Linked DNA regions of Homo sapiens: all the other regions are linked to region 1. Evidence: promoter capture Hi-C in 16 types of primary human blood cells and fetal thymus (Javierre and others, 2016). All regions are on one chromosome and are shown on one strand. Each heading gives the region's core, a stretch centred on a gene start or on the middle of the fragment in contact. The rest is flanking DNA. Distances are from core to core; before and after follow the strand shown.

Region 1 (2,700 bases), core at 45-2,544:
AAAATAGGAATGGGAGCTGAGTTTTCAGGTTGTTTTCCATAAAACCATCACCAGTTATTCACATATTTTATAATCAAAATATACTTCTAAAATTTAGTAAGAGCTTGCAAGGTGGCTTAAGATTATCTGTATTTGTATTGTCAATCTATATATTCTTCTGGAGATTTCTAGATAGAATGCTTGACAAAATAAAAAATATTCTTTTTTCCCCAGCACCTACTGATCCTCAATCCACCAGGTTTCAGATTAGAAATCATAGCTCCAATAAGTCTTCCAGGACATCCCTCCCCAATACGTGCATACCAGAATGAGTTAAACGCCCCTTGTATGTATTGAAACAGCACCTTGACACTGAACATGAGTAAGAACCAGTCCCGGGCCTCAGAAGGGCCAGTAAGAGGAGGCAGACACATAATAATAATATTGTGTGAACTTCTACGATGTGCAAGAATAAGCAAACGTTTTCTTCCAATTGCAATTTAACCAGAAATGAGCACTGCGACCTTGACAAGTCGTTTAAACCTCTTTACGTTTCAGTTTGTTTACCTACCAGAAACGTATAAGGATAAAGCTGAAAAGAACAAATACAATTACCAGAAACTTTACAGTACTAATTTCGGTAAGGAGCTCCTGCAGGAATCAGAGAAGCAGTATTTTGGATTTATTACGTATTGCCTCCATTTCAGATTCTGCAAATTAACCAACGCTACCTAGACGGACCAAAGGGCTGAGACTTTTGCCTTCTGGGCCAGGAGGGCGTAGTTTTCACTACTAAGCCAACTGGCCTTACAGCTTTCCTTGTGAATCTAGCGTCCCAGGAAAGAGCCTATCAAGATAATCTTCCACCTTGACGCTCAGGCAAAAGGCTGAACCTAGAGTCTCCAAACTAGGGCGAGGGGACCAGAACACGTGGGCCGCGACGCCACCCTTCCCACGGAGCCACAGAGAACACTTTTGAGACCAGCAGACAACCACAGATGTGCGCCCCGCGACCGCCCTAAGCGTCAGGAACAACGCGCAAGCGCCCGGCAGCCCCCGCCTCTCGCGTACCTTCCGCTGCTGCTGTTTCCACCGCGTGAACATTAAGTGTCGCCGCTGTTTGTTTTTAATCTCCGAAATGCTAAAGCCTGGCGGAAAGGCAGCCGCTTTCGGGGGTTGGACCCCGTTTTCCGTCGCCCCATCCCCAGCGCCTGCAGCCTCCTGAAGTTCTTCGGCAGCGGCTTTCCGTTTTAGACTTTTCTTCCCGCTGCTGCTGCTCTTATCCCCGGCTTTCGCCATGGTCTTGGCTCCTTTGCTTCCGTACGGAAACGGAAATAGCCTTCTCCTGTGACCCCCTTCCTTAACCTTTTACTTCCGGGGTCGCAAAGTTTTTGACGCTAGATGTGTTTTGTGAGTTTTAGCCATTCAAGAAAATAGTAAAGCTGAGGCTTGAGGAAACTTTAGGCAGTTTGCCCAGCTGTATAAAGAGTGAGATGATGAGTTTGGGCACTCCTTGCGCATCTATGTGCCCAGCCCTCAAAATAATGGAACAACAACAAAAACCGTGCCTGGATTAGTTTACGTTTTACTTGAGGGAAACCTAAAATGAGCATACAAATAAATTATGGTGAGCTACAGAGTAAGACATGGTATGGAAAAAAAATAGAACAGGATAAAAGAAGATGAAGAGACATTCATCTTTTTGAGACGGAGCCTTGCTTTAATGCCCAGGCTGGAGTGCAGTGGCACGATCTCCGATCACTGCAAACTCCTCCTCCTGAGTAGCTGGGACTACAAACACGTGCCACCATGCCCGGCTAATTTTTGTATTTTTGCAGAGATGGAGTTTCACCATGTTGGCCAGGCTGGTCTTGTACTCTTGATTTCAGGTGATCTGTCCGCCCTGGACTCCCAAAGTACGTTGCAATTTTAAATAGGATTCTCAGAGTAGGCTTCATTGAAAACGTTACATTGAGCCAAGGTTTGAAGGAGGTAATGGGCTAAACTAGTTATCTGAGGGAAGAGCTGTTAATCTGAGAAAAGCTGGTTATCAAGGAGAAAAGCTGTCCTGGCAAAGCAAACAGCCAGCTCCAATGCTCCTAGTCAGTAGCAAGCCAGGAAAGGCAAGAAGTGTTGAGATTGGACAGGTGGTGTAGAGTTTTGTAAGGACTTTGGCTTTTATTTTATGTGAGATGAAGATCTCTTATAGAATTTTGAGGAAAAGAATGGTATGATCTTAACATCTTAAAAGTATCAGGCTGGTGCAGTGGCCCATGCCTGTAATTTTAGCACTTTGGGAGGCCAAGGCAGGAGGATTGCTTGAGCCTGGGAGTTCAAGACCAGCTTTGGCAACACTGTGAGACCCCATGTCTACAAAAAGTAAAAAAATATATATATCTGTTTGGGCATGGTGTACATCTGTGGTCCCAGCTACTCAGGAGGCTGAGGCAGTAGGATCCATTGAGCCTGGAAGGCTAGGTTGCAATGAGCCATGTTGGTGCCACTGCATTCCAGCCTGGGTGAGAGGGTGAGACCCTCTCAAAAAAATAAATAAAAATAAAGTAAAAGCGTCATTCAGAATCTTCTTTTGAGAAGAGCCTATGCAGGGGCAGGGTGTGTGGAAGAAGGGAAGAAATGATAGTGGCCTGAACCAGGGTAAGTCTTGTGTAGGTGGTTGAGAAGTGATTCCTCTGGAAGGTAAAGTTACTGATGGAACTGAAG
Region 2 (2,700 bases), core at 66-2,565, 240 kb before region 1:
GGGGAAGTAATTGTGATCAAATCCTGACTCTTGCTAGGAAAAGGGTATGACATAAAGAAGAGGAGCATGTTCTTGGCTCTTAAAATGAAGAGTTGGGAAATGCTGGTATAGAAGGAGAGCTGAATATTACCTTTGAACAGTCAAGGGGTAGACTAAAGTCAGCATTATTCAGGTTTGTGATCACCTAGCATCCTTTCACTCACTGTTTGTAGAATTTCCATACTGATTTCCTCTTCCTCAAATTATTCTTCCTTGCAGCTAGGGTACAGGCATGTGACCCTGATTCAGCCCTATCTGCTATGAAAGGAAAATAAATCTTGGGACCCCAAAATCACTAAGCCAAAGGGAAGAGTCAAGCTGGAACTGCTTAGGGCAAACCTGCCTCCCATTCTAACCCTAATAAAGATAGCTACTAAGATAAAAAAGCTACAGACCTCCCTCACAATTAGTTCACAAGGAACTTCCTTGCTGACAAAAGACAGACAGAACTCAAAAGTCATCCCTTCTGCTCACTGAGATAAACACATATCTGATTGCTTCCTTTGAAGAGGCTAATCAGAAACTCAAAAGAATGCAACCATTTGTCTCTTATCTACCTATGACCTGGAAGCCCCCTCCCCACTTCGATTTTCCCACCTTTCTGGTCTGAACCAATGTACATCTTACATATATTGATTGATGTCTCATGTCTCCCTAAAATGTGTAAAACCAAGCTGTGCCCCGACCTTGGGCACATGTTGTCAGGATCTCCTGAGGCTGTGTCATGGGCGCATTCTGAACCTTGGTAAATAAACTTCCTAAAATTGACTGAGACCTACCTCAGATATTTGGGGTTCACACTGTGCATACCTCTTATTTAGAAGTGAGTAAAATGAAATGTAGGTACAGTGAAGAAAGGATCTATTGGTGAAGGTGGGGTTGGAAACATCCCATGTTTAAAGAGCAGTCACGGCAGAGTTCTTGGCATCTAGTCCTATCCCTATTAGTATGAGCTATGAGGTCTTCTCCAGAGTAGCCCCTATCATGTGGTTTGAGCCTTGCTTCTGACTCTACAAGGATAGCCTCCACTACTGACCCTCTGCGCTACCTACTATCCTTCAATATCCTTTGTCAAATAACGTGCATTGGATTTGAGGCTATAATTAGCTCACCCTTTATTACTAAGCCTTTGTTCAGTGTTACCTAAGAATTACCAGTTTGATCTGTAGATGAAGCCCTGGGACTTTGAGGCAGAGGGCCTAATTTGAGGGAGACAAGAAGACTCTGAGTCAGCAAACCTCTCTTCTATCAGAAAGTCTGGTTTCTATTGGTGCAGACTGAGTCATGGTTCCTGATAACTTACAAATACCATAGTGAGGTATTTTATGGCTCTTAGTTGAAGAAACTGTTTCTGTCTTCATTTTTACCACTTCCCATGTAGATTTGCACAGACATGGCTTTTATCACAAAATGTGATTTAAATAGAAGTGTTCATCCTTATACTGTAACTGCTGGTTAAGTATTTGAGAAAGGATATTTCTTCTTATTTCTCTTTTATATATTGCGTTTTCAAAGTCACTAATCTCCAGATGGGATCTCATCTGAACACCCACTTTATTTAGATTTCATATGGAAATAGCTTTGACCCCTTAACTATTCTATAAATAATAAAACAACCCAGCAACTTCTATAAGGGAACCTTTCTTTTTAGCCAATGATCTGATTCAGCTGGCAGTAGGCCCCATAATTATTACTAATTAATAGAAATTTAACAAAGAGAGTTTCAGCTTTTGATTTTGGAGGAAAAAATACAGGATATGTAAGAAAAAAATGTAACATCGAATAGTTAACTTTCAGTGAACTATGCATGACACTGTGAACTAAGGCGAACACCTGGCCTTTTGGTCCCTGAACTGTTAGATTACAATTAGTGCTTTTTTTCTTAGTCTTTAACTTGGGTTAAGAACTGCAAGTTCAAAGAGATGTTTGTTTTGAGGAGGGAGTTTCCAATGGGTGCAAAGTGTAATCCATTCTGAGCATATGCTGGTTTAGAAAGTGCCTTGGTGGTGGCAATGTTTTCAGCTGTGGCAGCAGAATTTCCTTATCTTTGTTGCTCACTAGATTTGCTTTAGAATGATACTTTTAAAATTCATTAGACCAGTAATAATGCAGTGGCATTTAACCTGATACTCAGATGGCACAAAGCACTCTCACCACCGTGCTTCATTCGCACAGTTACACATTAATAAAAGGCCTTTTCATTCCACTCTCTGCCTGTTCGGCTGAAAGCCACTATTAATGCTTTTTTTTCTTAATCACATGTTTTCTGATGACACATTTCTTAGCCCGTAATAATTAATGTTTCTGGCCAGAGCATTTAATAGTTTAATGGTTTTTCAAATTTGTTTCCATAGACTGGTCAAGTTGGATTGGGAAACAAGCCCAAAATATATTTAAGAAGAAGCAAACTGCCACATGCTTAGTTGTGACTGTGAGTTCTCAGCACAGTCCTAACACACACTCACTAAATATTTAGTGAATGCATGAATGGAAAAATGAATGCAACTCCTAGCATGACATGAGATCCAAATGTGCAGCAGGATGGGACAATCCAGAACTAAACGCATTAAAATTTACTTTCACTAGCTTCTATTTCGTCTTTTAAAAAGGCACGAATGGAGGGAGGGGGGACTTTACTGAAAACTTGAACGCTTCAACTAA
Region 3 (2,700 bases), core at 55-2,554, 140 kb before region 1:
TAGCACTGGCTCAGTTTGGCGGGGCTTGCTCTAGGAGCCTCATTTTCTTCTCTCCCTGAGGACAGGATCATGTGCATGATGTCCTTGTGCCCCCACTGTCACCAACTGCAGTGAGAAAGGTAGCTCGGAAAAGGGGTTCTCAAAGAAGCCTACAGCAAAAGGGTTATCCCTCAGGGACAGCATGGTGTGTGCCTGTGTGCACATGAACATCATCTTAGATAGTTCATTTTGTCTGGACACATTGGTTCAGCTACAGCGATTAACTGCATGGTGGCTTGAGCTCTATTCCCGGTGGCTGGGTGTCCAAACTGGTCCTTGAGCAGTGCTCACAGTCACAGGAGCCACAGACTGCAAGACTCACCCCTGAACACAATGAGCACTTAGCACGGGCAGTGAGAAAGCTGTTTATCATCCTCTGCACCTGGGCAAAAGAGACGAATAAATCCTAATGTGAAAGTTCTGACTTTAGGTGAGGTATTTCACCTTATCCTGTCCTCAAAAGTCATCTCTAAATGTTCCTGCTTCTTATTTTCAAGCTTGGAGGGCCTATCTTTCTTTACTCATTGTGTATCCCAAGAGAAATTTGGGTGTGGGGGGGTGGGGGCAGAGGATAGGTGTCCTTGCAGTCCAGTTTGATCCTAGAAGGGGTGACTCTGCCCTTGCCCTTTAGGATAACATGGCCAAATTAGGGTAACAAGAGGGTTGCAATTCTCTTATGTTTGAGTGTATACTTTTTAAACAGCCAAAAAATGCACAAATAAGAATAAGGCAAGATGTGGCTGGGCACGGTGGCTCACGCCTGTAATCCCAACTCTTTGGGAGGCCAAGGCAGGCAGATCACCTGAGGTCGGGAGTTTGAGATCAGCCTGACCAACATGGAGAAACCCTGTCTCTGCTAAAAATAAAAACTTAGCCAGGTGTAGTGGTGGGTGCCTGTAATCCCAGCTACTCAGGAGGCTGAGGCAGGAGAATTGCTTGAACCTGGGAGGCGGAGGTTGTGGTGAGCCGAGATTGCGCCATTGCCCTCCAGCCTGGGCAACAAGAGGGAAACCACCGCCCCCCCACCCCCCACCCCCCAAAAAAAGAACAAGGCAGGATGTAAACTATGTGACTTAATGGAAAAATTCATACTGGTTGCTTAGCCAGGTCAGAATTAGATAACCATCTTCTATGGGGTCAAGTATAAGTACCCAGCTGCTTCTGTGTCCCCACTCAGCTCAGAGCTTAGTCTTTGAAACTGGTAAATAAAGCTGCACCAGAAAGTGTTGCGCATCAAACTGGTCAATTAATAGTTACAGCGGTTCAGGTCAGAGTATCTCTCTCTAAACAGTCCCTGATAGAGATAATCATCCCACCAGTTCTGAGAAATGTAGAGAAAACTTGTATCTTAAGTGACTCATTTAACATTAAAGCAGCCTATTAAGTTGTCTATTTTGAAATTTCACTCTATAAAATTTTCAGAAGACTTCTAAGTGCATATTCAGCTTTGTTATGGCATGTGAAGAACATTATTAAAGAGAAAAAGATTCTAAGTGCATAGAGAATAATGGGCTCACCCTCCCACTAGTGAACACTTAAGAATCTGACATCTTCCACCCATTTCTCTGTGTCCCTTGCAAGGGGACAGTCATGCCCTGGGCAATCCCAAGGAACACTCCTTTCCCATCTTCTACTGGAGATGGTGGAAGTACCATCTAAAAGTCTTAGGTGCTACATTCTGGTACTGGCCCTTTCATGGCCAAGATATGTTCCTTTGGGCAAGTTGTTCAAACTCTCTAAGCCTAGTTTTTCAACTGCAATAAAGATGATTCCAGTTCAAAATCTGGGCAAGTGTGAGTTACTGCCACTACGTGCAGTCAAGTTCTGTCATGTTTCCTCCATCAAGCTACCCAGCAGGCTTGGGAGAATCAAATGTAAGGAGGTGTAATGCTACCAAGTTTAGAAAATCTACTAATGCTGCTTCAAGACAACAACTTCCCTCCTTCTAGCTCATTTGAATCCCACAGCAATCAGGAAACATAACTGTCAGGTAATATTTTTATTTCCTTTTGGGATGAGCAAACTAAGCTTAAGCGAGGTTAGGTAATTTACTCAGAAGCACATAGCTAATAAGCAGACTAAGAAGAACTTGGGCCTTTAACTGAATACTGCAGACTTTCTACCCCACTCGCTGACTCTATTAAAAACGCAAACTGGCCAGACCAGGCATGGTCCACCAGTCTTACCAGTGTCACCCAGGTGCTGGCTTGTATTAGGTTGGTGTAAAATTAATTGCGGTTTTGGTCACTACTTTTAATGGCAAAAACTGCAATTACGTTTACACCAACCCAATACTTCCTGATGCCTTTATTTTTACCAAGCAGAAGGGGAATGCACCCCTTCCTCATGCTTCCACACAGGAAAATATACTCTACTAAGCATTGCTGAGCAATGTTGATCTCACTAGAGACTTCATTTCATGGGGATAGAAACATTGGAGAATTTGACTTTGTATCTCCACACACCACATCATCATCACCACCAAAGATGGTTTTTTTCCTACAGGCTCTTCTCTCTGCCTCAGCCTCTATCAGGCTGCAGATGACCAGACAGGGAGAAAAGAAGGGGAGAGAGAGAGAGAGAGAAAGAGAGAGAGAGAGAAAGAGAAAGAGAGAAAGAGAGAGAGCGAGAGAGAGATAGAAGCAGAGCCTAGGATGCTAC
Region 4 (2,700 bases), core at 11-2,510, 160 kb before region 1:
CTTCTGTAATTCTCAGCCCAGAACTATTATTTCAAACTAAACTTGTATTTCACATTTTTAATTAGTGAAGAGGCTCAACGAAATGCAATTTTCAAATAGTCACCCAATAGTATAAAGCTTTTGTGGAATATCAATTTAATTTCTAGCCACTTTTAGTTTCTTTTATCTTGAAAATCTTTTACCTTAATAACTAGTTGATTTGGTTTTGTAATGTTATTCCTTTTAAGCAAAGAGGTATTAAATAATAAGGAAGGCTGGGTGTGGTGGCTCACGGCTGTAATCCCAACACTTTGAGAGACCAATGCAGGCAGATCACCTGAGGTCAGGAGTTTGAAACCAGCCTGGCCAACATGGTGAAACCCCATCTCTACTAAAAATACAAAAATTAGCCGGGCGTGGTGGCAGGCGCCTGTAATCCCAGCAACTCGGGAGGCTGAGGCAGAAGAATTGCTTGAACCCGGGAGGGGTAGGTTGCAGTGAGCCTAGATCACGCCATTGTACTCCAGCCTGGGGGACAAGAGCAAGACTTCGTCTCAAAAATAAATAAATAAAAAATAAATAAATAAGGAAAATCTCTATAAATTAGATCTCAGTGAAATTAAACTTTTCCAAACAAATAGTTTTTCAGATTCTGTGTTAATGCCCCAAAGAAAACTAGAAATCCAACAACTAGCCACACAAAGCCTTGGTACATATGTTCTAAAGAAGCTATTTTGATCTTAAACCATGAAAAATTTTAACTGGAATTTTAAAAATCACATTGCCTTTTTATTTCCAAAGCACTTGTCTTCATTTTTATCAAGGGCAAATATCTGAGGAAACAACTCATAAATGCTTTTTGTTGTTGTTGAGACAGAGTCTTACTCTGTTGCCCAGGCTGGAGTGCAGCGGCGTGATCTCAGCTTACTGCAACCTCTGCCTCCGGTGTTCAAGCAATTCTTCTGCCTCAGCCTCCCAAGTAACTGGGATTTCATGCATGCACCACCATGCCCAGCTAATTTTTGTATTTTTAGTAGATACAGGGTTTCTCCATGTTGGCAAGGCTGGTCTCAAACTCCTGACCTCAAGTGATCTGCCTGCCTCAGCCTCCCAAAGTGCTGGGATTACAGGCATGTGCTGCCACGCCTGGCCTCATAAATGCTTTTAATTGAAATTCTTTGATAAGGAACGAAAAGACTATGGTAAATCTCAGAGGCAGGTTCTGGCCTTGGCAGTGAGGGCCAGAAAGGGGTGTACATCAGAGACACAGTTGCTTGTGGTGTGGTTTCCCAAAATCTGGAGGTGCACATTCCTGTTGACTCAAACTTTTGATAGTGAAATGGGGAGCTATTCATGATTAGGCCTGTACCACAGTGGAAATTGGGACAAATGATCACCCTGTGTATAATGGAAGCCCTGTCCAAGTAAGCATAACTCTGACTTGAGTTTTGATTGTTGAACCTGTAAACCCAAAATAAAATCCTAAGGCCCCCCAACTATTTGGGTCCCTTCTCTCAGCCAAGGGCATTCCAAAGTTAACCTGAAAAACTAGTTCAGGCCACGATGGGAAGGAAGGGTGAGACATGCCTGATTATACCCTCCTTCCTCTTGGAATTCAGGAAAAGTTAACCAGCATTAATATCAACACAGACCTTAAGTCTTATAAGAGACATTTACAACCTATGCTCCCTGAAGGCTGTTACCTGGAGGCTCTATGATAAAACTTTGGTTTCCACAGCCGCTTATCATCATAACCCATACATTTCTTTGTACTGATTCCAAGTCTTTAGATAATAACTCATTCAGGCTAGGCGTGGTGGCTCACGCCTGTAATCCTAGCACTTCGGGAGGCTGAGGTGGGTGGATCACGATGTCAGGAGTTTGAGACCAGCCTGACCAACATGGTGAAACTCCATCTCTACTAAAAAAAATACAAAAATTAGCTGGGCATGGTGTTGCGTGCCTGTAATCTCAGCTACTCAGGAGGCTGAGGCAGGAGAATCGCTTGAACCCAGGAGGCGGACGTTGCAGTGAGCTGAGATCGCGCCATTGCACTCCAGCCTGGGTGACAGAGAGACTCCGTCTCAAAAATAAAATAAAATAGAATAAAATAAACTAACTCATTCAACAAATTGCCAATCAGAAAATTTTTAAATCTACCTCTAACCTGGAAGCCACTGCTTCAAGTTGTCCCACCTTTCCAGATTGAACCAATGTACATCTTACAGGTATTGATTGAATGTATTATGTCTTCTTAAAAAGTGTAAAAGCAAGTCACACCCAGACCACTTTGGGCACATGTCATCAGGACCTCCTGAAGCTATGTCATGGGCCTGTCCTTAACTTTGGCAAAATAAACTTTCTAAATTGATACCTATCTCAGATATTTTTGGGTTCACAAACCCTAATCCCTACAAAGCTTCTTCCTTTAATTCATGCCTCAGGTATAGTTTCTAAAAGATGGAATCAAGTTGTGGTCTAACCTAATATAGTCAGCTTTCCTATAACACTCATAAACACCATGTAAAAAAGGACAAGTTTGTCTCAATGCAGTTGACATATTAGGGAACAATTTGAGCATAATGCAAAATTTGTGTTTGCTTATGTGTGATTCTGTTAGTGAGAAACACTAAGTGAATGCAGAAAACTGTGCCCAGCTGATCCAAACTAAACAGTAACACACAAAACAAATATACATCTCAAATGTCTACTGTTACAGTA
Region 5 (2,700 bases), core at 164-2,663, 230 kb after region 1:
CAAAAATCAGTACTGGACACACTATTATTAGGAAATCTGTAAAACCAGTCCCAAATAACTGACAAGTGATATCTATGGAGGGAAAGCAAAATTAGAAAAAGCTTATCAGTGGCATATAATCTAGAGCAATGTATTTTTACCTTAAAGCTAGGTAAGATGGCTGATGAGTAGATTCTGAATTGGATTTTAGGAGCTGGTGATATATGAAGGAAAAACACTCAGCAGCTTTTTATCACATGGAAAAAAACTTCTGTTTGGTTAGTGATTATTTTCTGAACCATGGTATAAACAGGAATAAGGTTATCAACAGATAAGTAAGTGACAAAGAAGGACATTGCTACTTGAATAAAAGAGGCTTTTTTTTGGATGTCCAATTAACCACATGATTTATTGACAGAAAACAGTCCAACTCAGCCATGTGCTTCCTGACTTTGACTCACTATTTAAAAAATAGTAAAAACTTTAATAAAAAGTTGGTTGTGTTGATTACGTGTTTTTAGCATATTGTGGTGAAGAAATTGGCAGTGAAGATAAGAGGGTTTTTTTTTTCCCTCACATGACGGTGGTCTGGCTGTTAAAAGAAAGGGTTCTCACGAGTTTGAGATATGAAGAATGAGAGGAAACATTTCTTCATGGCAATAATAATGCTAGAGAAGCCATTTTAGTGACATCTGGTGGCTTGCACAAAAGCATATTGATGATGTAGTATCACATTTTCCATCTTGAAATTAAAGGATCAGGCTGGGTGCGGTGGCTCACGCTTGCAACCTTAGCATTTAGGGACGCTGAGGAGGATGGATCACCTGAGGTCAGGAGTTCGAAACCAGCCTGGCCAACATGGTGAAACCCCATCTCTATTAAAAATACAAAAAAATTAGCCAGGAGTGTTGGCATATGCCTGTAATCCCAGCTACTTGGGAGGCTGAGGCAGGAGAATCAATTGATCCTGGGAGTACGAGGTTGCAGTGAGCCGAAATTGTACCACTGCACTCCAGCCTGGGTGACAGAGCGAGACTCTGTCTCAAAAAAAAAAAAAAAAAAAAAAAAAGAAATTAAAGAATCAAGATTTCTTAAGACTGAACTCTGGTGAAAATGGCTTGTTAAGAGTAGGACTCTTACAAGATTGATGATCTAAAAAAAATGTATTAAATCAATGCTCTGTTATTGGGCGTGTTTATTTTTATCTTTGATTAATTACTTTATCATTACAAAGAATGCAAACAACTCAACAAGGTATAAGGGAAGAATTAGGAAATAACCTCAAATCTCATACCATTGATAACATTATTACACTATTCTCGGTGCACATATTGAGACAGAAGGGTAGAGAGGTAGAGAGGTACCTAACTAGATAGCACTAATTTTTTTTTTTTTTCCAGGAGGCCAGGAAATATTTTATTGACAACCAGGGACACAGCCATAAGAGAGAGAAGCACACAGGACTCCAAACTAACATCCAATAGTCAGCAAGGGCCCTCTGGGCCAGGAATACTGAATCCTGGTGTCCTCACAGTCTCCCACCAGTAGACATACATTACTGGGCATCCAAGGGAGGGGGCAGTGGCTCTGGTGTCCCAGAGAGTGAGAGGATATATGATGCCTCATTACGAGCGACAGGGTAGGGAGGTAAAATGGAGGGTCCATCACTGCCTAAGACCACCTCCTCCTCTCAGAGCCAACACCAGGTGAAGGACTGAACCACCTAAAATCTTGTAATCAGCTGCTGTCTTCTCATCATTCATGTTTGCCACTGTAGATGAGCCTCTGCTGTTGTGGAGGGATTCCCTCTTTCTCCTCCACATGCTCCTTGATTCACTCCACCTTGTCTGTAGGTTCAATATCAATCTCAGTCTCCTTTCCAGTTAGTGTCTTCACTTTAATTAGCATCTTCTTTCCAGTTTGGGGCTGCACACGGATAAATTGCTGCTCCTACCACTCCGGTCGCCACTGCTGCTCTTCCAGATAGCACTGATTTTATAAAATTGTATTATACTTTTTTTTTTTGAGACAGAGTCTCACACTGTTGCCCAGGCTGGAGTGCAGTGGCGTGGTCTCAGCTCACTGCAACATCCACTTCCCAGGTACAAGTGATTCTCCTGCCTCAGCCTCTTGAGTAGCTGGGACTACAGGTGCACACCACCAAGCCCAGCTAATTTTTGTATTTTTAGTAGAGACAGGGTTTCACAGTGTTGGCCAGGATGGTCTCGATCTCTTGGCCTTGTGATCCACCCGCCTTGGCTTCCCAACCTGCTGGGATTACAGGCGTGAGCCACTGGCGCCTGGCTTATACTTTTTAATATAAAGTGTTCAGTTTAATTTTGTCTATATTACAAAATCTAATTCACTAGAAAAAACTGAAATGAAAATAAATTTAACGCAAGGAAAAGAAGTTGAAGGGAAAATGAAAACTGTTTATATATGTTCCTTCCTCACAAAAAAATTACAAAACCATAAAGAAAAAATTGAGAGGTTAGAGTTATTATCTTATTTAATCCACTTCAATTTTAGACTCCATTAATTGACATCCTGCTATAAAATGTATGGATGTTAGAAGTTTTCTACCTTCTCTCACTTCTTTCTTTCTCTACCTTCCAACTTTGTTAGTTATATTATTCTAAGTTTGCCAAGGTTTAAAACATTTACATTCAGTTCTATGATTGTAATCATCATAGGTGCTTATAATTAGAACTACATTAAGAC

The links. Contacts are between HindIII fragments. The CHiCAGO score rates a contact against its expected background, and 5 or more counts as called.
Region 2: a contact is called between a fragment that was not itself captured here and the fragment with the promoter of RPF1 in region 1, in 2 of 17 cell types (megakaryocytes and fetal thymus). The highest score is 5.7, in megakaryocytes.
Region 3: a contact is called between a fragment that was not itself captured here and the fragment with the promoter of RPF1 in region 1, in 17 of 17 cell types (neutrophils, megakaryocytes, naive B cells and 14 more). The highest score is 16.3, in neutrophils.
Region 4: a fragment that was not itself captured here is called in contact with the fragment with the promoter of RPF1 in region 1 in 3 of 17 cell types (neutrophils, megakaryocytes and M1 macrophages); the score reaches 6.7 in neutrophils.
Region 5: a fragment that was not itself captured here is called in contact with the fragment with the promoter of RPF1 in region 1 in 1 of 17 cell types (megakaryocytes); the score reaches 5.9 in megakaryocytes.

Annotation. Positions count from the first base shown.
Region 1 is chr1:84,477,860-84,480,559 of GRCh38, reverse strand. It overlaps RPF1 (ribosome production factor 1 homolog), which reads right to left and starts at 1,294. Exons shown (of 9, transcript NM_025065.7): 1 at 1,051-1,294. The coding sequence starts at 1,278. RefSeq lists enhancers at 718-877, 1,073-1,633. The HindIII fragment of the contact is 6,088 bases long and covers 1-2,700 here.
Region 2 is chr1:84,719,909-84,722,608 of GRCh38, reverse strand. No RefSeq gene overlaps it. Among named protein-coding and RNA genes, the nearest start is that of SSX2IP, 31 kb to the right of the region's middle. The HindIII fragment of the contact is 2,886 bases long and covers 1-2,700 here.
Region 3 is chr1:84,622,560-84,625,259 of GRCh38, reverse strand. No RefSeq gene overlaps it. Among named protein-coding and RNA genes, the nearest start is that of LINC01461, 2.9 kb to the right of the region's middle. The HindIII fragment of the contact is 1,531 bases long and covers 539-2,069 here.
Region 4 is chr1:84,639,010-84,641,709 of GRCh38, reverse strand. No RefSeq gene overlaps it. Among named protein-coding and RNA genes, the nearest start is that of LINC01555, 5.3 kb to the right of the region's middle. The HindIII fragment of the contact is 2,281 bases long and covers 120-2,400 here.
Region 5 is chr1:84,243,521-84,246,220 of GRCh38, reverse strand. It overlaps the pseudogene NEDD8P1. Among named protein-coding and RNA genes, the nearest start is that of SAMD13, 57 kb to the left of the region's middle. The HindIII fragment of the contact is 2,620 bases long and covers 104-2,700 here.